Regions from separate parts of the Homo sapiens genome. Here all the other regions are linked to region 3. The links are contacts of gene promoters, found by promoter capture Hi-C in blood cells and fetal thymus (Javierre and others, 2016). All regions are on one chromosome and are shown on one strand. Each heading gives the region's core, a stretch centred on a gene start or on the middle of the fragment in contact. The rest is flanking DNA. Distances are from core to core; before and after follow the strand shown. Region 1 overlaps LOC105370832 (a long non-coding RNA gene). Region 2 overlaps MNS1 (meiosis specific nuclear structural 1). Region 3 holds the start of CGNL1 (cingulin like 1). Region 4 overlaps LOC105370832 (a long non-coding RNA gene). Region 5 has its middle 12 kb from the start of MNS1.

Evidence for each region. Contacts are between HindIII fragments. The CHiCAGO score rates a contact against its expected background, and 5 or more counts as called.
Region 1: a fragment that was not itself captured here is called in contact with the fragment with the promoter of CGNL1 in region 3 in 2 of 17 cell types (total CD4 T cells and non-activated CD4 T cells); the score reaches 8.0 in total CD4 T cells.
Region 2: a contact is called between a fragment that was not itself captured here and the fragment with the promoter of CGNL1 in region 3, in 1 of 17 cell types (naive CD8 T cells). The highest score is 5.7, in naive CD8 T cells.
Region 4: a contact is called between a fragment that was not itself captured here and the fragment with the promoter of CGNL1 in region 3, in 1 of 17 cell types (naive CD8 T cells). The highest score is 6.0, in naive CD8 T cells.
Region 5: a fragment that was not itself captured here is called in contact with the fragment with the promoter of CGNL1 in region 3 in 1 of 17 cell types (naive CD4 T cells); the score reaches 5.3 in naive CD4 T cells.

Annotation. Positions count from the first base shown.
Region 1 is chr15:56,492,037-56,495,996 of GRCh38, forward strand. It overlaps LOC105370832 (a long non-coding RNA gene), which reads right to left. Exons shown (of 4, transcript XR_007064652.1): 3 at 3,647-3,755; 4 at 112-464. Among named protein-coding and RNA genes, the nearest start is that of MNS1, 29 kb to the left of the region's middle. The HindIII fragment of the contact is 469 bases long and covers 1,216-1,684 here.
Region 2 is chr15:56,432,997-56,437,140 of GRCh38, forward strand. MNS1 (meiosis specific nuclear structural 1) reads right to left here. Exons shown (of 10, transcript NM_018365.4): 8 at 1,142-1,399. It also overlaps a transcript of TEX9 not described here. Among named protein-coding and RNA genes, the nearest start is that of MNS1, 30 kb to the right of the region's middle. The HindIII fragment of the contact is 916 bases long and covers 1,055-1,970 here.
Region 3 is chr15:57,374,918-57,379,303 of GRCh38, forward strand. It overlaps CGNL1 (cingulin like 1), which reads left to right and starts at 1,588. Exons shown (of 19, transcript NM_032866.5): 1 at 1,588-1,650. The HindIII fragment of the contact is 10,841 bases long and covers 1-4,386 here.
Region 4 is chr15:56,518,597-56,522,516 of GRCh38, forward strand. The region is part of intron 1 of LOC105370832 (a long non-coding RNA gene); the gene reads right to left. Among named protein-coding and RNA genes, the nearest start is that of MNS1, 55 kb to the left of the region's middle. The HindIII fragment of the contact is 1,188 bases long and covers 1,484-2,671 here.
Region 5 is chr15:56,474,928-56,478,837 of GRCh38, forward strand. No RefSeq gene overlaps it. Among named protein-coding and RNA genes, the nearest start is that of MNS1, 12 kb to the left of the region's middle. The HindIII fragment of the contact is 3,468 bases long and covers 1-3,246 here.

The DNA.
Region 1 (3,960 bases), core at 200-2,699, 880 kb before region 3:
AGAGTAAATGGCTAATGTCCTGATTGATTGCCCTGCCTCAAAGAGGGTGACACTAGACAAGGTGAAATCACAAGAAATCACACATTTACTAAATGATTAGCATGGATCATATTTTCTTGCCATGTATATAAATGTTTATTTGTACTAAAATTTGGGACACAGAAACTTAAGAAATAAAAAAAGAATATTGCAACTACAAAGCCATTGTGAATTATCCTCAGTATCCCTGAGAAGAACCCTCACGCTATGAGGAGGACACTCCAGGGGACCCCGGCATGGAGGGGTCTCCCATACTACTTACTCCCAGTGCCACCAGATAGACCAGCTGCTGCAGAGCCTGCAACGTGAGAGTGGAGTACCTGAGAGGCCCCCTTTTCATCCAAAAGCCACTTGCAGAAAGCCTCTTAATGTGGCTGTCATCCAGCTTCCAGCTAAGCTGAGGGCAGGAGACTGAAGACTCATGTCTAGAAAGAAGAAAGAATAGCAAGTTGATTGGGCAGTCTTCTAAGTTGAGTTTGCAAAAAGCAGTGCATTATCCAGTACTCCTCTGTGCCTCCCATACTGCTGTCCTGGCACCCTCATGCTTTTCCTCTCCCTCTAAATCCTAAGGGAATAAGAAAAGGGAGATAAAAGCAAGCAAACAGAAATAAAAAAAAAGGATATTGCGTGGAGACTTTCTTTGGCCACTAGAGATGCCCAGTGAGGGTGAGCCAGATGAGCAGAATCAAGAACAAGGCTGGAGCTGCTACTCCTAGAGGTGGGGCAGGACAGAGTTCCAGGCAGCATCAGGGAGAGAAAACAAGGGTGTCCTGACTTGTCTGGAACCTGCTGTTCAGGCTGGAGGGCTGTGGAAAGCCAACCCCAAGGAAGAGTAAGGAATTAAGAGGAGAGGTCTGAGCTGCAGAGGGCTAGGTTGCTCCTGTCTGTGCTGTCTGAACTGCTCAACCACTGTGGCTTTTCTCAGAAATAGGCTCCACCTGGCATCCCTCCAGATGAAGTGCAAACTCTAGAGGCAGAGTATGGGCTGAATTGAGAGAGAAGTGGCCAGCACTCATGCCCAGACTCCAGGAGCACAGTTTGAACCCTACATAAAATAGAGTGGGGGCCAGGACTGCAGCAGGTAGAGTAAACACACGGTCTAACGTGCTGGGGCGAGACCAGGTGGGGTCAGTGCCCTGTCTCTGCCTGACTCTGCCAAAGGAGAGTGGGACTGGAAGCTTCCCTGCACTTGTGGGGTGTGGATAATAGGGGACTAGTGAAATTTAGAAACAAGAAGAGAGGCAGCTTTCTTTCTATGGGGGAGCTGGGGTTGGCCACATCAAGAAGAGCTCCAATTCAGGCAGATCAAAGTGTTCTTTCAGTAAGCCCTCTGGAGGCTCAGTGTCTTAGTCTGTTTTGCGCTGCTATAACATAGCATACCTGAGAAGACTGGCTAAAAGCAGAAATTTATGTCTCATATTCCTAGATGCTGGCAAGTCCAAGATCAAGGTGTTGACATCTGACCAGGGCCTTCTTGCTGTGTCATAACATGGTAGAAGGACAGAGAGAGAGGGACCAAACTCGTCTTTTTATAAGGAACATGCTCCTGCCATAACCGCATTAATTCATTCATGAGGGCAGAGCCCCCATGATCCAAACACTTCCCATTAGGCCTCATCACCCAACACCATTGCTTTGGGAATCAAGCTTTCAACATGTTAACTTTGGTGGGTCAGGGAGGAACATTCAAACTATAGCACTCAGCATGAATTGTAGCCACAATCACAGTTGGCACATATGACTCTGTGGTCTGGTTTTAAATTGGACTTAAAGCTTGGTAAAGGCCAAAATGCATTCAAACTTGGGTACTCTTCCCCAAACCCCACATATCAAATCCTTCAAGATTGGGTTCAGGTGCCACTGTCTCCATAAAATCATCTGAGTCTCTCAGCTGACCCACTACCTCCCTCACCTGAGATTCCACAGCCTTGTTTTCACCTTCCACATGGGTTTCCATCTTTGATAACTGGTGCACACGTACTCTTTCTCATGCCTCACTGAAAGGTCTGTGAGGCCAGTGCTCCTTTCTTGGGCATCTCTGTCTCCCCCTACAGCACCCAGCACAGTGGCTTGGAAGTTTCACTAGATGCTTGTAGAACAAATAGAGCAGCAGTTCTCTGGATCTGTTTTCTATTGTGTTAAAGGCAGAAGCTATATAAATGTTTCCCCAAAGTCATTTTTCTGATTCTCTAATTTAGGTTAAGTATTAAATACCTACCACATATCTGATCTTGTGTGTTCTGATTTCAAAGAAATGAAAGACACAATTGTGATCTCATTGTGGTAACACAACATAGAAGGAACAATTAGACTATGAGACTAATATAATAAATTGCTTAATTGTACCACATTGTAAGAGGAGATCAGAAGAGGGAGAGCTGCATGTGGTCCAGGGAGGGAAGGGAGAGCTAAAAGGGAGAGTAGTTGGTTACACTAAGCTTTGAAGATGGGTAGGATGTGCACAGGATGGCAGCCCTACTGATGTTGCAGCCCTTGCCCTTGATGCCCTGCCCTGGGCCTGGAGCCTGCAGTGACCCATCTCCTAGAGCTGTCCTGGTTTTCTTGTTGTTGGTTATGCCTCCCAAGCAGAAATTGCAGTAGTTATTGAGAAGGGACAACCATCAGGACACTTCTTGGATTTTTGTTTCTCATAAACTGAGAAAACTGGGCTGGGCTGGCTGAGAGTCCTCCGTGACTACACCCTCCTTCTCAGCTAAGTAGGAACAAGTTTCATTACAATGCTTTCCACTTGTCAAACACAGACCTTCCTTGCCCTGATCAACTGGGATGAAAGCTCCCCACTTCTTATGGGGCCACCCACAATCTGAGGCTTTACCCTTGCCATGACACTTGGGGTATCTTGTTCAGAGTTCCCATCATCCAGCTGTTGGAAAAGTAATTCCAGTACTCAGCTGGTGGTCATAGAAACTTAACTGTCCTCAGTTCAGGGATATAAGATTCCTTTAAGCCCTTCTACCTGAGAGATTAGACTTTCATTCCCCAGAGTCTGGTCGAGGTCTGGTTTAATAGGTAAGACAGAAAGCCATGGATCCTCAGAGGTAAGTTTGTGCTTTATCTGTCAACATGAGACATGGTGAACAGTGCTGCCTGGAAACCAGTCTCAGGCCCCGGTTTTGCCCTTTCATCCAGATAAAGCAATTGCTCTGGAATAACATGATCTGCGAGTCCAACAAACAGGCACACCCTACACTCAGCACACAGGCTGGCATTGTTAATATGGCATGCTTTATGGCTTCCCAAGAGAGCTTTGCTATGTTTCCTACCATGGCCACCATTTTCCCTCCCCATATAAGTCTTTACATCTTCAGTGCCTAGCCCAGAACTGGCATGCAAAGACATTCTATAAATGATGCTGAATCCTGAGGGAGACACTTGGCAGATGAATGACACTAGCTAATACAGCGTTTAAAGGCATGGTGTGACACAAAGATAAACATAAATATCCTCTATTTCTTTCACAACAGTAACTTTGAAACCCCATCTTTTGGAAAAGCATTGTCTCCACTATGATGCACACGTCAATGATTCTGCTTATCAAATTCTGTTGAGCCAGCATGGAAGGAACAACTCTCTGTAGTCTATTTACCTTAAGGAGCTCAGTCACATGTCCAGCTCGCAGCCTGTTTATCAGGATGAAGGATGCTCTCTGGAGAGAGCAGACAGCAGGACAGGCCGGGCTCAGATGACAGTCTGCCCTGTGGAGATTGACTTTAATGAAGCACAGAATAAACAGGAAGATTAAGAGGGTGCAAAAATCAGTGACAAGTTCTAAGTTCACCTCTCTGTTGGAAATGAAATGTTCTCTGTACACCTGAGAGCTGTCTCTGGGCTATAGATGAGGGCATCTGTTTGGTTGCCAATGATTCCATGCTATCCAAATCAGCCTCTATGTGAGCGCAA
Region 2 (4,144 bases), core at 263-2,762, 940 kb before region 3:
GATGAGACATAAATAAGTCAATGTATCCAAAGCCAAAAACTTCATTCCCTCTCCAACACTTAAATCTACATTTCCAACTAGTAATCTTCCCCTGGGCCACCAAATCATTTTGGGTGGACAAAATAGAATTATTTGCACCCTCAAAATCTATTTCTTTTCCTCTATACTCTTTCCTTAGGATGTCACCCAGTCACCCATTAAAGATGGAAGTGACACATGGACACAGGGAGAGGAACATCATCACACACCAGGGCCTGTCGGGGGGTGGGGGGGACAAGGGGAAGGGAGAGCATTAGGACAAATACCTAATGCATGCAGGGCTTAAAACCTAGATGACGGGTTGATAGGTGCAGCAAACCACCATGGCACATGTATACCTGTGTAACAAACCTGCATGTTCTGCACATGCATCCTGGAACTTAAAAATATTAAAAAAATAATTAAAAAGATGGAATGACAGTATTATTTATTAGGGGTAGCCTTAAGTCTTCTCTCACCCTAGATCTCACTGGTCACCAAGCCCCATCAATTCCGTATCCTTAACATCTCTCGGGTGGATCCCTTATCTATTTGCATGGGTTTCACCACTTGTCACTGGGATTATTATAATAACTTACTTACTGATCTCCCTATCTCCGAGCTTACTCATCTCTTATCTACCTTCAATGCTCTCACTTGAATCGTCTTTCAAAGTACAGATCTTAATATACAGCTTTTCAATCTTCAGTGGCTTCCCTTAGAAAAGCCCACCTTCTTAAAATAGCATGCAGGGTGTTCATGATCTGTTTCTCTCTCTGCCATACCAAAACATCCATAGCTCTATAACCTATTATCACATGTACATGACATATTTATAATTACTTTTTATATATTTTTCTTAACCAAGACCATAAATTCATAAGTGACATGGACTTAGTTTTATTTACCTTTTATGTTCTCAATACCAACCAGTGTTTAGCACATAGAAAGCATCAATAAATATTTTCTAGAAGCAAAAATGGTCAGAAAATTTATATATATATTAGTAAACATACTAACATTGTCTGGCATATAAAGCTTCTCAGTAAATGTTTAGTGGATGATAGATGAGCTATTGCTGTTTAATGATAATGACCAAAAAAACCCCACAACTTTTTCTTACTTTGTCTGCAAGGAATTGTTGGCGACGCTCTTCAATAAGTTTTTCCACAGCCCTCCTGTGTTCCAGCTGCTTCATTCTTTGTTTCTGAGCATTCATTAATTCTATTCGATCATCCTCAGCAAATTTAGCTAGCATAGTTTTTCTAAAGTTCTCCTCTTCCTCTTTTGCAGCCTGTAGCACTAATTCCTTCAAGGCCATTTGTTCTTCAAAATCTTGCTTCATCTCTTTTTGCTTTCTCAATTTCTTTTCTGCTTCTTCCTAAACAATACAGCTGAAAGTTAATTTAGTAACTATTTCCTTACACCAGATTTATAAGGAAAGAGTGATAGAGTTTGGTTAAATTTAGTATTACAATATGAAATCATACAAACTGAAAAAGTAAGGCTTTTCATGATAACTTTGTCCATCCCTTTAAAACTAGCTGGATAAAGAATATGCTTACATTTGGATTGTTTTCTGTTACTCATGAACAAATTTTAATTTATATTTACCATCTTGTTTCTCTACTCAGAATTAACACGTAACTGCTTTGGAAAGAGCTGTTACAAAAGCCTTTTTTGCACACCTGAGTTTATTCATCTAAAGTCTATGGTAACTATGAATCATTCTAGAATCTTGCTTACAAAAGCTGTCCAAACCACCCATAAGTATTTTTCAGTTTCCAACCTCCTCCTCAAAATCAAAGCTGCACTTACCCATCTCTAGTCTTCTAATATTCCCTTCATTCTCCAAAATTCTCTAAAATTTAAAAACAATTATCTAGCAATGACAATCAGTACTTCTTTAGGGAAATTCAAATATAGTTGGAACAGTTAAGTCCTTTCCTATAAGCTTTTATTTTCTGAACATTTTATTATGAAAAATTTCATACATACTAAAAAATATAATTTTACAATGGTCACTCACTTCTAAATAATTCATGGGCCAAAGAGGGAATGCCAAGGAAAATAAATACATTGTAGTTAATAAAAGTGAGACAGCAAAATTTGTGAGATGCTGCTAAAGCAGTTCTGAGAAACATTTATAGCACTAAATGGATACATTTAGGAAAATGTATATATATAGCACTAAATGCATGTATGTAGGAAAAGTCTCAAATCGATAATCTAAGCCCCCACTTCAAGAACCTATAAAAAGAACTGTAAAGTAAACCCAAAATATGCAGAAGGAAAAACATAATAAAACTGTAGAAATCAATGGAATTAAAAATAGAAAATAGACAATTATTGGTGAAACAAAAGGCTGGTTCTTAAAAATTATCAGTGAAATGGACAGACCTTTAACAAGGCTGACCTAGAAAAAAAAAATGAATGAATAAACAAATAACTAATATCAGGAATAAAACATAGGATATCACTAGAGACCCTACAGACATCAAAAGGATAATACAGGAATACTACAAATTATTATACACACATAAATTTGGCAACTTAGATGAAATGGATCACTTCCTTGAGAAACACAAGCTACCAAAACTCACCAAATATGAAATAAGGTAATCTGAATAGTCCTATCACTATTAAGGAGACGGAATTAATAACTTAAAATTCCTCCAAAATAAAACCCCAAGTCAGGATGGTTTCACTAGAAAATTCTATCAAATATTTAAAAAATTAACACGAATTCTACACAATCTCTTCCAGAAAACAGAAGAGGAGGAAACATATCCCCATTCATTTTATGAAGATAGTATTACCCCGCTACCAATATAAAAAATTACAGACCAATATTCCTCGTGAATATGGATGCACAAATCCTTAACCCAATATTAGAAAAATAGATCATACATTAAAAGAATTATTCACCATGACCAAGTAGTGTTTATTACAGGGATGCAAGACTGGTTCAATACTCAAAAATCAATGTAATATACTTGGCTAAAGAAGAAAAAGTCATAATCATATCAGTAGAAAAAAGTGTTTAACCAAGGATATCCAGGAATTGAACTCAGTTCTGCACCAAGCAGACCTAATAGACATCTACAGAACTCTCCAGCCCAAATCAACAGAATATACATTCTTCTCAGCACCACACCGCACTTATTCCAAAGTTGACCACATAGTTGGAAGTAAAGCACTCCTCAGCAAATGTAAAAGAACAGAAATTATAACAAACTGTCTCTCAGACCACAGTGCAATCAAACTAGAACTCAGGATTAAGAAACTCACTCAAAACCGCTCAGCTACATGGAAAGTGAACAACCTGCTCCTGAATGACTACTGGATGCATAACGAAATGAAGGCAGAAATAAAGATGTTCTTTGAAACCAATGAGAACAAAGACACAACATACCAGAATCTCTGGGACACATTTAAAGCAGTGTGTAGAGGGAAATTTATAGCACTAAATGCCCACAAGAAAAATCAGGAAAGATCTAAAATTGACACCCTAACATCACAATTAAAAGAACTAGAGAACCAAGAGCAAACACATTCAAAAGCTAGCAGAAGGCAAGAAATAACTAAGATCAGAGCAGAACTGAAGGAGATAGAGACACAAAAAACCCTTCAAAAAATCAGTGAATCCAGGAGCTGGTTTTCTGAGAAGATCAACAAAATTGATAGACCGCTAGCAAGACTCATAACAAAGAAAAGAGAGAAGAATCAAATAGACGCAATAAAAAATGATAAAGGGGATATCACCACAGATCCAACGGAAATACTACCATCAGAGAATACTATAAACACCTCTACGCAAATAAACTAGAAAATCTAGAAGAAATGGATAAATTCCTGGACACATACACCCTCCCAAGACTAAGCTGGGAAGAAGTTGAATCCCTGAATAGACCAATAACAGGCTCTGAAATTGAGGCAATAATTAATAGCCTACCAACCAAAAAAAGTCCAGGACCAGATGGATTCACAGCCGAATTCTACCAGAGGTACAAGGAGGAGCTGGTATCATTCCTTCTGAAACTATTCCAATCAATAGAAAAAGAGGGAATCCTCCCTAACTCATTTTATGAGGCCAGCAGCATCCTGATACTTTGGTCGTCTGTCA
Region 3 (4,386 bases), core at 338-2,837:
TTGAGCCCCCTCACTTTGGCATTTGATGCCTTTTCCACCCTCTGACCCCATCCACCTTTCTAGTATGCCTCATCCCATTTTCTAGCATGTGTGTCCTGCCCCAGGCAGCCTCTGCTCAGGAAAGCTGGTCCACCCTCTGGGCACTGTTCACACACCCCATCACCTTGGCTGTCTTCCCCAACCTAGACCTGCTAACTCTGGAATAGTGCAATACCGCTTCCTCCAAAAAGACTCCCTTGACCATGCTGCCCACTTGGGATAAGTAGCATCTTTTTTTTTTTTTCTTTCTTTCCTGGCAATGAATCACTATTATTAGGTCGGAGCAAAAGTAACTGTGGCTTTTCCCATTGAAAGTAATAGCAAAACTGCAATTACTTTTGCACCAACCTATTACTTTTTCAAGTCCTTTTATATTGTTTTGAATTGTTAAGTTTTCAAGGGTCTATTTCATTCAATATGTCAGCAAACATGTATTAAGTACAGGTTGGGCAGGGCGCAGTGGCTCACATCTGTAATCCCAGCACTTTGGGAGGCCGAGGCGGGTAGATTACTTAAGGTCAGGAGTTCGAGACCAGCCTGACCAACGTGGTGAAACCCCGTCTCTACTAAAAACACAAAAATTAGCCGCGCGTAGTGGTGGCCACCTGTAGTCCCAGCTACTCGGGAGGCTGAGGCACGAGAATCGCTTGAACCCGGGAGGCAGAGGCAATGAGCCGAGATCGCGCTACTGCACTCCAGCCTGGGCAAAACAGCAAGACTCCATCTCCAAAAAAAAAAAAAAAAAAAAAAAGTACAGGTTGTTGTTTTCTCAGGGAATCCTCATAGCTGGTGAAGTATCCAGCTTTTCATTTTACGGATGAGTGAACTGGGGTTTAGAACTGATAACATTTTGCCCAAGTTCTCACAGCTAGCGAGAGGCGTGCCGCAGTTTATCGTGGGGTGGGTCTAAACAAGGACCTAAAAACTGTATTCGAATCCCAGCCCTACTACCGCCAGCTGTGTGACCTTACGAGGCGCCTCACTTTACTGTTTCTCCAACAGAGACAGACATTTCTTGTTACCGCGCAAGTGGGATAACCTCCCCACCAGTGTCTAGACACAGTAGGTGCTCAATAAATAGGTGTGGGTTTGCGGTGGCAGAAGAGCGCTATCCCTTAAGTTTCTGACAGTGAGGGGGAAAAAGGCTAAGCAGGGAAAGGAAGGGAAAGGGGTAAACTGAGCTCGGCGCAGTCGAGAGCGCGAAATAGGGAGGGCTTCCTGCAGGCCAGGAATTTGGAGAGGCCGAGGCTGGGAGAAGAAAAATGCCCGGTGACGGCGGAGGGGAGGTGGAAGGACGAACGGCTCCGGGAAGGGGTGAGGTCTAAGCGCAGCCCCGGGCCCAGCGGAGCCGAGGGCGGGTGGTGCGGGGGTTCCTGGGTAGGTTCGTCCCGACGGGCCGCGGGCGGATTGAAGGGAGGGTTGGGCCCGCCGGCAGCCCCGGCGGGTCCAGGCCCCCGGCCAGCCCCTGCCCCTCCTCCCAGGAGGGCGGGCGGCGACTGCGGGGCGGGGCGCGGGCTCGCTCGGCCTCCCGGCGGCGCCGCGGCCCTTGCACTCCGGCCGGGCTCTGCTGGCTGCGGCGGGAGCTGGACGCGGGAGGAGGCGGCGGCGGCGGTGAGTGAGCTCCGGGCTGGAGCGGGGCGGGGTGTGCGCCGGCAGCCGGGTTTCGGGGTGCTAGGGGCCGCCCAGGGCGGCGGGACCCCCAGGGGTTCGGGCTCAGCCAGGTGCACTGTGCTCAGTCCGCGCGTCCACTCTCGGTGACCCGCGCCGCGCGTGTCCTGGGGCTCGAAGATGCGACCCGGACTCCCGCGCCGCGCCCCGCCGAGGGCAGGCGCAGAACAGATGCGGGCGATCCCTGGGGAACCCGCTTCGGGGCGGGGTGGGAGGGAGGAGGCCCTGCAGAACCTCCCTTTAGTGAAGAGGGACTTTCTGCCTTCGCACCCCTGCCTGGACCCTCCGGCTCTAGTGACAGCTGGGAGAGACTCACACGAAGCAGTTTCTGACCTATCCTGTCGTACACAAGTCCTCGGCGTGCTCGGCCGGACCATCCCCTGGAAAGAAAGGGGCGTGTGACCTTTCTCTCCCCGATCCTCCAGACCACTGCGCCGCCCAGGGAGGTCATCCCCGAGAGAGCCCCCGCCTCACTCGGAGCACACATTCTAGCTCTCCCCGGGACTTTTCCAAGTTGCATCACTGTTTGGCCTCTAGACAGGTACTTGGCTGTCATGTTGGAGTTAGTTACACAGGATTTTTGAAACTTTGTATATTTGCTTTGTGTGTTCTTCACCCTAAGGCCGCTGCCCTCCCGACTCTGCTTATGCCGCTCAAAACGTTGCTCAAAGCTCGCTGGGAATGCTTTTGCGGGCATTGGTTCTCAAACTTGGCCCCACATCTGGAGAGTTTTAAAAAATACTGGTGCCTGTGTCCCACTCCCAGAGATCTGGATTCGGCTTGCCTGGGTTGCAGCCTGGACAATGGAATTTTTAAGACGCCGCAGGTGATTCTAATGTGCAGGCAAGTTTGAAAACCTCTGCTTTGAGAGTTGCTCCCACCAGCCACTCTTCGGACGGCTCAAGATCAGTCCTGATCTAGAACTCATCTCAGGTCCTCATAGCTCTTCCCTAATCCACCTCTCCACCTGAAGAACCTGTTGATTGGTGCTTTCCAACTTTAGACAGTAGATGGTGCCTTTACTGAAGATCCCTTTGTTTCTACCTCTCTGTTTACAGTCAATACTGCCAGGGCACTTTCTGCCAAGGAGGTGGGAGTGTAGGCATTAGAACCGAGCAGTCCTTGTCAGGGTCAAGGTTATAATACAGGGTTGTCCTATTCAGGGAAAACCAAGTGATAATTTGACTTGTCATATTCGGGAATGATTTCAGATTAAAAGGAGAAAAAATACTTTAGGGTTTGGTCAGCTTTTGGAGACCCTCCGGAGACTCCCCCACGTAGATAATGGAGTTGCATAAATGTGGAGAATTTTCCTTCAAAAAGCCAAAGCTAACAACATCCTTAAGGTTTTGTGGTTGATATTTGTGTTAACATAAGTCCATTTTTGTAGATTAAACTTATTCTGGAAGTATGATGAAGCCCTGCAGACAGAACACAGTGTATAACATGGCACATCTGAGATGACACCTGAGACACCTGTCACATGGTCTTAAAAATGATAGAGAAGTAGGACTAAGGAAAATGTAACCATGCTTATATTGGCTAAATTAGGTCATATATTTTATCAAGAAAATGTGTTTTCACTGCCCTTTTTAGTAATGTGATAGTCTCCGGGGATCTTGGTTAATTTACTTTTGTACCCCAAATATGATGTTTGCATTAAAATTTCCACCCTGATGTTGCTACCTGACCACAAATCAGTGGTTTTAAGTTTTTCTTAGGGGGTGGCCCTCTATGTGTTTTTTTTTTTTTTTTTTTTTTTTTTTTTTTTTTTGAGACAGAGTTTTGCTCTTGTCGCCCAGGCTGGAGTGCAATGGTGCAATCTCAGCTTACGGCAGCCTCGGCCTCCCTGGTTCAAATGATTCTCCTGCCTCAGCCTCCCAAGTAGCTGGGATTACAGGCACCCGCTACCATGCTCGGCTACTTTTTTGTATTTTTAGTAGAGACAGGGTTTCGCCATGTTGTCCAGGCTGTTCTCAAACTCCTGACCTCAGGTGATCTGCCCACCTCGGCCTCTCAAAGTGCTGGGATTACAGGCATGAGCCACCGTGCCCCGCCTGTATTTTTATTAACAGTGGGATGACATCCTTCCAAGAATGCCTTGCTGAAGTGAAAGAACATTTACATTCATTTCTAGCTGCTAATGTAAGTCCAAAGAACATTCATTTTGAAAAATACAAAAATGACATAATTTTGCCCACTTGGTTTTCTCGCTTTTCCCCAACTTCCACGACCATGCTCTGCTGCTACTACTGTATTCACTTGCTGGAGGTGTGCACCCTGTGGGAGCCGTCTTCATTGTCTTGGCTTTGGCTTGAAATGGAGGTTACATGCAGCGCATTGTCTTACAGGGTGTCCCCTGACCCGAATCATCACCCTTTGGGGAGCAAGACTATATGGAAAGTGTTTTCCTACTGTTTTTTTTGTGTGTGTGTGTGTGAGTGAGTGAGACCATGCCAACAAAATGAAGCCATATTATTAAATGGTTTGTTAACTTCCAAATCTTGTCTCAATTGGGAAAAGAAAAATGCTTATTCGAGGATGCTGTTGAATTCATGGTGTCTGAAAAGTCACCCCTGAACAGCAATAGTTACACTGTGAATATAATAATACACTCTACCCCCCCAAAAAGAAAAGTTTATGTAAATGTGGGCCTAAGCACATTTATTGCAATTTCTC
Region 4 (3,920 bases), core at 828-3,327, 860 kb before region 3:
CCATATGCAGAAGATCAAAACTGGACCCCTTCCTTACACCATATACAAAAATTAAGATGAATTAAAGACTTAAATGTAAAACCCAAAACTAGGCATGCCTCTGGACACTTGGTGGCCACCCCCTGGACCCTCCCTCAAGCGCTGGTGTTTGGGCCTGCCATTGGGTAACCTGTAGGTGGATCTGTTCAGTCTGGTCCCACCCATCTTGGTCCCCCTCTATGAGGTTGAGCAGAGAGCTCAAACCACTGTGTACTTCACAGATTAGCCCACTGCCTGTAGCAACTGAGACCTTCTCTCAGTAAACAAGGATCAAATATATACCCCTGTGTTGGCCACAGCCAGCTCTTACTAGCTATCTACAAGCCTCTAGGTTGAACCACACAGTCCAATATGAAACCAGCTCACAGAAATACACAGGGCTAGAGAAGCAAAGCCAAAAGACTCTACCCAACATTCTCTATAGTCACATTCCCTTGGATGGGGGAAGAAAACAACAAAGGAGAAAAACAATAATAATATTGGAAAGGAAAGGAAAGGAAACAAAAGGAAAGGAAAGGAGAAAGGAGAAAGGGGAGACAGAGGAGAAAGGAGAAAGGAAAGGGGAAAGGAAAGGAAAGGGGAAAGGAAAGGAAAGGGAAAAGGAAAAGGGAAGGGAAAGGAAAAGGGAAAGGATTCTATCCACATGAAAATAATTACAAAACTTAAAAGTGCCAACATCTCCAGATGAGAAGGAACCAGCATAAAAATTCTGGCACCATGAAAAAATCTGAATACTGTGACACTATTTGTTAATTTGAGATCTTTCTAGCTCTCCAGCAATGGTCACTAACCAAAATGGAAATTCAGAAATGACAAATAAAGAATTCACAGCATGGGTATCAAGGAAGCTCGATAAATTTCAAGACAAGGTTGAAAATCTACACAAAGAAACTTCTAAACAATCCAGGAAATGAAGGAAGAGATAAACATCTTTAAAAAATCAATCAGAGCTTCTGAACTTAAAAAATTCACATAAGGAATTTCTCAATACAATTGAAAACTTTATCAATAGAGTAGACCAAGTAGAAGAAAAAATTTCAGAGCTTGAAGATCAATCTGTCAAACTAATCCATTCAGAAAAAAAAAATAAGAATTTTAAAAAATAAACAAGTCTTTGAGAAAGGTAGGATTATATAAAGTGAAAAAATCTACAAATTATTGGCATTCCTGAGAAGGAGAAAAGGTAAACAACCTGGAAAACCTATTTGAGGGAATAATCCAAGAAAATTTCCCTAATCTTGCTAGACGGGTAGACATCCAGGTACAAGAAATACATATAATATCAGCAAGATACTATACAAAACAATCATCACCAAGGCATAAAGTGACAAGACTGCCCCAAGTCAACACTAAGGAAAAAATCCTAAGGGCAGCTAGAGAAAAAGGTTAGATGACCTACAAAGGGAGCCTCATCAGGATAACAACAGACTTCTTAGCAGAAGAAAGCTTACACAAGTCAGAAGAGATTGGGGGCCTACTCAGCATTCTTAAAGAACACAAATTCCAACCAAGAATTTTATATCCCATCAAACTAAGCTCCATAAACAAAGGAAAAATAAAATCTTTTCCAGACTAGCAGCTACTAAGGTAAATTTTTACCACTAGACCACCCTAACAAGAGATCCTCAAGGTTTTAAACATGGAAACTAAAGAACTGTATCTGCTACCACAAAAACACACTTAAGTACATAGTCCACAAACCCTATAAAGCAACTACACAATAGATACTGCAAAGCAACCAGCTAACAACTTCACAATAGGATGAAAACCTCACATAGCAATGCTAACTTTGAATGTAAATGGTCTAACTGCCCCATCAGAAAGGCACACAGTGGCAAGTTAAATTAAAAAAGAAAGCAAGATCCATCCATCTTCTATCTTCAAAAGGCCCATCTTACACTTAATGATATCCATGGGCACAGAGGAAAGGATTGGAGAAAGATCTATTACAACAAACAGGAAAAAAAAAGAACATGGTTTGCTATTCTTGTATCAGATAGACTTGAAATCAACAACAGTAAAAAAGGACAAAGAAAGGCATTACACAGTGATAAAAGGTTTAATTCAACAAAAAGATTTAATTATCCTAAATATATATGCACTTAATATTGGAGTACTCAGATTCATAAAACAAGTACTTCTAGACCTATGAAAAAACTTAGATATCCACACATTAATAGTGAGGGACTTCAACATCCCACTCAAAGTGTTAGATCATCAAGACATAAAATTAACAAAGAAATTCTGGACTTAAATCAATTTGGCCAATTGTACCTAATAGACATCTACAGACTACTTCACCCATCAACCATAGAATATACATTCTTATCTGTATGTGGAACATAATTTAAGATCAACCACATGCTTGGTCATAAACCAAGTCTCAACACATTTTTAAAAATTGAAATCATACCAACTTACCTTGGACCACAGTGGAATAAAAATAGAAATAAATACCAAGAAGATCCCTCAAAAACCACACAATTAAATGGAAATTAAACAACTTGCTCCTGAATGACTTTTGGGTAAACAACAACATTAAGGCAAAAATAGAAATCCTTTTAAGTAACTGAAAACAGAGACACAACATATCAGAATCTCTGGCATGTAGCAAAAGCAGTGTTAAGAGGAAAGCTTTTCACACTAAACACCTACATAAAGAAGTTAGATCTCACATTAACAATCTAACATCACATCTAGAGGAACTAGAAAAACTGGAGCAAACTAAGCCCAAAGCTAGCAGAAAATTTTTTTAAAAAGCTATAATCAGAGCAGAACTGAAGGAAATTGATATCCAAAAATTCATCCAAAGAATTAACAAAACTAAGAGTTTGTCTTTTGAAAGGATAAACGAGATCAATAGAATGCTAGCTAGATTAACAAAGAAAAAAGAGAGAAGATCCAAATAAGCACAATCAGAAACAACAAAGGTGACATTACAACCAATCCCACAGAAATGCAAAAGATCCCAGAGACTATTATTAACACTTCTATGCACATAAACTAGAAAATCTAGAGGAAACGGAAACACACAACCTGCCAAGATTGAATCAGGAAGAAACTGAAACTGCAAACAGATCGATATAGGGTTCCAAAATTGAATCCATCATAAAAAAAAATTGCCAACCAAAAAAAGCCCTGGGCCAGAGGGATTCATATCCAATTCTACCAGATGTACAGAGAACTGGTATCAATTCTACTGAAACTATTCCAATAAATCAAGGAGAAGGGACTCCTCCCTAACTTATTCTACAAAGCTAGCATCACCCTGATACCAAAACCTAGCAAAGACACAATGAAAAAAGAAAACTACAGGCTAGTATCCCTGATGGACATAGATGCAACCTATGTTGAGGAACCTAGTAGTCCTCAACAAAATATTAGCAAATCAATCAAACAGCACATTAAAAAGGTAATTCACCATAATCAAGTAGGCTTAATTCATGGTATGCAAGTTTGGTTCAACATACTCAAATCAATACATTTGATTCACCACATAAAGAGAATTAAAAACAAAGCCCATATGATTTCTCAATAGATGCAGAGAAAGATTTTGATAAAATTCCACATCCCTTAGTGGCTATGAACTTTCAACAAACTAGGCATTGAAGAACATGCCTCAAAATAGTAAGAGCCATCTATGGCAAACTCATATCCAACATCATACTGAATGAGCAAAAGCTGGAACCACTATCCTTGAGAACAAGAACAAGAAAAGGATGCCCAATCCCACTCCACTGCTTCTATTCAACACAGTACTGGAAGTCCTAGTCAGAGTAATCAAGCAAGAGAAAGCAATAAAAGGCATGAAAATAGGAAAAGAAGAATTCAAATTATCTCTCTTCACTGATGGTATGATTCTATACCTAGAAAACCCTAAA
Region 5 (3,910 bases), core at 263-2,762, 900 kb before region 3:
ACATTTTTGGCTATTCTTTGCCCTCTATTCTTCTATATAAATTTTGATTTTCCTTGTCAAGTTTCATGGAAAAAACTGTTGAGAACTTTATTGGAATTTAATTGAATTTATGTATCAACTTTTAAAAAGCCAAACAATTTAAATTCTATTCATGTACACGGTGCATCTTTATTTTGTCTTTTAAAAATGTCTTTTAAGTTTTATAATTTTCTCTATAAAGATTTCATGCTTTTTTGTTAGATTTATTCCTAGATATTTTAAATTATTTGTTGCTGTCATAAATAATATCTATATTATTATTTGGGGTCGAAACAGGAAACAGTACCCTCAAAGTGAGTCATTTAAAAAGATGCAGACGAGGTTTAAGGAGATCAGCAGGAATTGTACAGTACCCAGGAGCCAGTAACTTTGGGGAAATATCACTACTCCTGAGTCTAAGGGAAAGGGGAGAAGGCACTTTTCTAGAGCCCAAAGATAGAAAGAGCTATGTGAAGAGACCCCTTTGATGGCAGCTGTGAACTTTGGTCAAAGGATGCAGCTCACCAAGAACAACCTCAGAGGGACAGTTGAGGCAACACAAACCTCATCTTCTTTTCTTCCTTCATTGGATCTTCTGATGATGCAACCACAAGCTAAACCCAATGAGAGCTCAAAGAGCAAGACAGACAGTTAGTTGCCAGCCAGTCTTCCAAGGCACCACCAGTGTAGAGAAGGGTGGAGGGAAATCTGGAGGGGCAAGTAGATGTCCACCACTGTATCTTTTTCAAACTTAAGTTTCTGTTTTTGCTGGTGTCTTGAGAATGCAAATGATTTCTGTATGTCAACTTTATATCCGCTAATCTTGCTGAACTTCATTTTAAGTTCTAATCATTTATCTGTAAACTGGCTTGAGTTTTTTTTTTAATATACTTTTAAGTTTTAGGGTACATGTGCACAACATGCAGGTTAGTTACATATGTATACATGTGCCATGTTGGTGTGCTGCACCCATTAACTCGTCATTTAACATTAGGTATATCTCCTAATGCTCTCCCTCCCCCCTCCCCCCACCCCACAACAGGCCCTGGTGTGTGATGTTCCCCTTCCTGTGTCCATGTGTTCTCATTGTTCAATTCTCACCTATGAGTGAGAACATGTGGTGTTTCGTTTTTTGTCCTTGCGATAGTTTCCTGAGAATGATGGTTTCCAGCTTCATCCATGTGCCTACAAAGGACATGAACTCATCATTTTTTATGGCTGCATAGTATTCCATGGTGTATATGTGCCACATTTTCTTAATCCAGTCTATCATTGTTGGACATTTGGGTTGGTTCCAAGTCTTTGCTATTGTGAATAGTGCCACAATAAACATACGTGTGCATGTGTCTTTATAGCAGCATGATTTATAATCCTTTGGGTATATACCCAGTAATGGGATGGCTGGGTCAAATGGTATTTCTAGTTCTAGATCCCTGAGAAATCACCACACTGACTTCCACAATGGTTGAACTAGTTTACAGTCCCACCGACAGTGTAAAAGTGTTCCTGTTTCTCCACATCCTCTCCAGCACCTGTTGTTTCCTGACTTTTTAATGATTGCCATTCTAACTGGTGTGAGATGGTATCTCATTGTGGTTTTGATTTGCATTTCTCTGACGGCCAGTGATGATGAGCATTTTTTCACGTGTCTTTTGTCTGCATCAATGTCTTCTTTTGAGAAGTGTCTGTTCATATCCTTTGCCCACTTGTTGATGGGGTTGTTTGTTTTTTTCTTGTAAATTTGTTTGAGTTCATTGTAGACTCTGGATATTAGCCCTTTGTCAGATGAGTAGATTGCAAAATTTTTCTCCCATTCTGTAGGTTGCCTGGTCACTCTGATGGTAGTTTCTTTTGCTGTGCAGAAGCTCTTTAGTTTAATTAGATCCCATTTGTCAATTTTGGCTTTTGTTGCCATTGCTTTTGGTGTTTTAGACATGAAGTCCTTGCCCATGCCTATGTCCTGAATGGTATTGTCTAGGTTTTCTTCTAGGGTTTTTATGGTTTTAGGTCTAACATTTAAGTCTTTAATCCATCTTGAATTAATTTTTGTATAAGGTGTAAGGAAGGGATCCAGTTTCAGCTTTCTACATACAGTTAGCCAGTTTTCCCAGTACCATTTATTAAATAGGGAATCGTTTCCCCATTTCTTTTTTTTTCAGGTTTGTCAAAGATCAGATGGTTGTAGATATGCGGCATTATTTCTGAGGGCTCTGTTCTGCTTGAGTTTTTTATTATTGTCCTTTTCCTTCCTCTTACTCCATTTTAAGTTTTTTTCTTCCCTCATTGGGCTAGCTGGAACCTATAAGAAAATGATAAATAGAAGAATTAATAGGTGTATTTTTGACTTATATGTTTGACATCTCATTATGAAGTATGATGTTTGCTGTAGTTTTGTTTTTTCTTTTATTATTGAAAAGCAATATATGTGCATTGTGGAAAGTTAGGCTATATAGATACCTAAATATTTTTAAAAATGCTATGTTTCTATCACTCAGAGATTACAGTTAACACCTTAGAGAGTTACAGTATATACATATATATTTACTTTTTAATGAAAGGAGATCATACTGTACATGTAGTAGTATAAAGGTTGCATGCTATAAACTGCTTTTCATGCTGTAGGTGTTTTATTCCCCGTTTCCCCATATTTATGAAGAGTTTTCATCCTAAATGGGAATTCAATTTTTTAATACCTTAAAATGACACAACTTGATTATCTTACAGTTCTGTAGCTCAGGAGTCAAACCTAGACCTTATTAGGCAAAGATTAAGGTATTGGCAGGGTGCGTCTGTTTCTGAAAGCTCTAAGATAGAGCCACTTTCTTGCCTTGGGAATTTAACTTTATCAATTTATTTTATTCAGAGGTCTTACTCATAGGTTTTACTCATTAATAAATTAATCTCCACTGCAATAATTCTAATAATATTCTTAGTTATTTTGGGGGATGGGGAGTAGGCTTGTAATCTGGAAAGAAAGTTTTCTAGCTCAATTTACCTTGAGCATGTTGATTCTAAAATATACTATATTAAAGTAGAAATACATTTATCTTTCTTATAATTTTTATTTTTCCTTAATCAGATTAAACAAAGTGTATTGTATTTGATAAGTTCATTATATAAAACTCTCAAATGTCTAATTTTGCTGTTAGATTTTTCTGCCAACACTCACAGTTGATGGTTATTTCCTCTAGATTTTGTAATTTTAGATTGTGAGCTCATTTTTAGAGAAGCTTTATTTAGAGAGCACTGTGAGGCTATGATGCAGATATAGCCCCCAGGAGGATTTGTTGTTGTTGTTCCAGGACGCAACTATGTAACTAACCCAGGGCCACTTTTCAAATGCCTGTTTATTGGCTTGATCTTTTTCTTGCTGTTTGTTTGAGATATCTGAGACAATTAGTAGATGGAGAAAAAGCAGAAAAAATATGAGAATGTCATCAGTGTGGGCAGCAGTTATTTCACATTTTAAATAAACCTGAAATAGCAAACATAATCTGGTTAGCATATGTGAATTTTGTACAAAAATAGTTTCTGTGCATGGCCCCTTCATCAATTTCTTTTTAAAAAAACACATGCATCATATGATCTTTGGAAGAGGGAACTGGCTGGATATCACTAGCATAACACAGTGGTTCTCAAACCAGAAACATCTGTGGAACTTTAGGTAAAACTACACCTGCCACATGCAAAAGACTGAAGTTGGACCCTTACCTTACAGTACCATATACAAAAATTTACTCAAAATGGATCAAATAGCTAAACATAACAGCTAAAAGTATAAAACTCTTAGAAGAAAATATAGGGTAAAGATTAATGACATTTAGTTCGGCAATGATTTCTTGGATATTACACCAAAATGGAAGTCAACAAAAGAAAAAATAGATCCGTTACA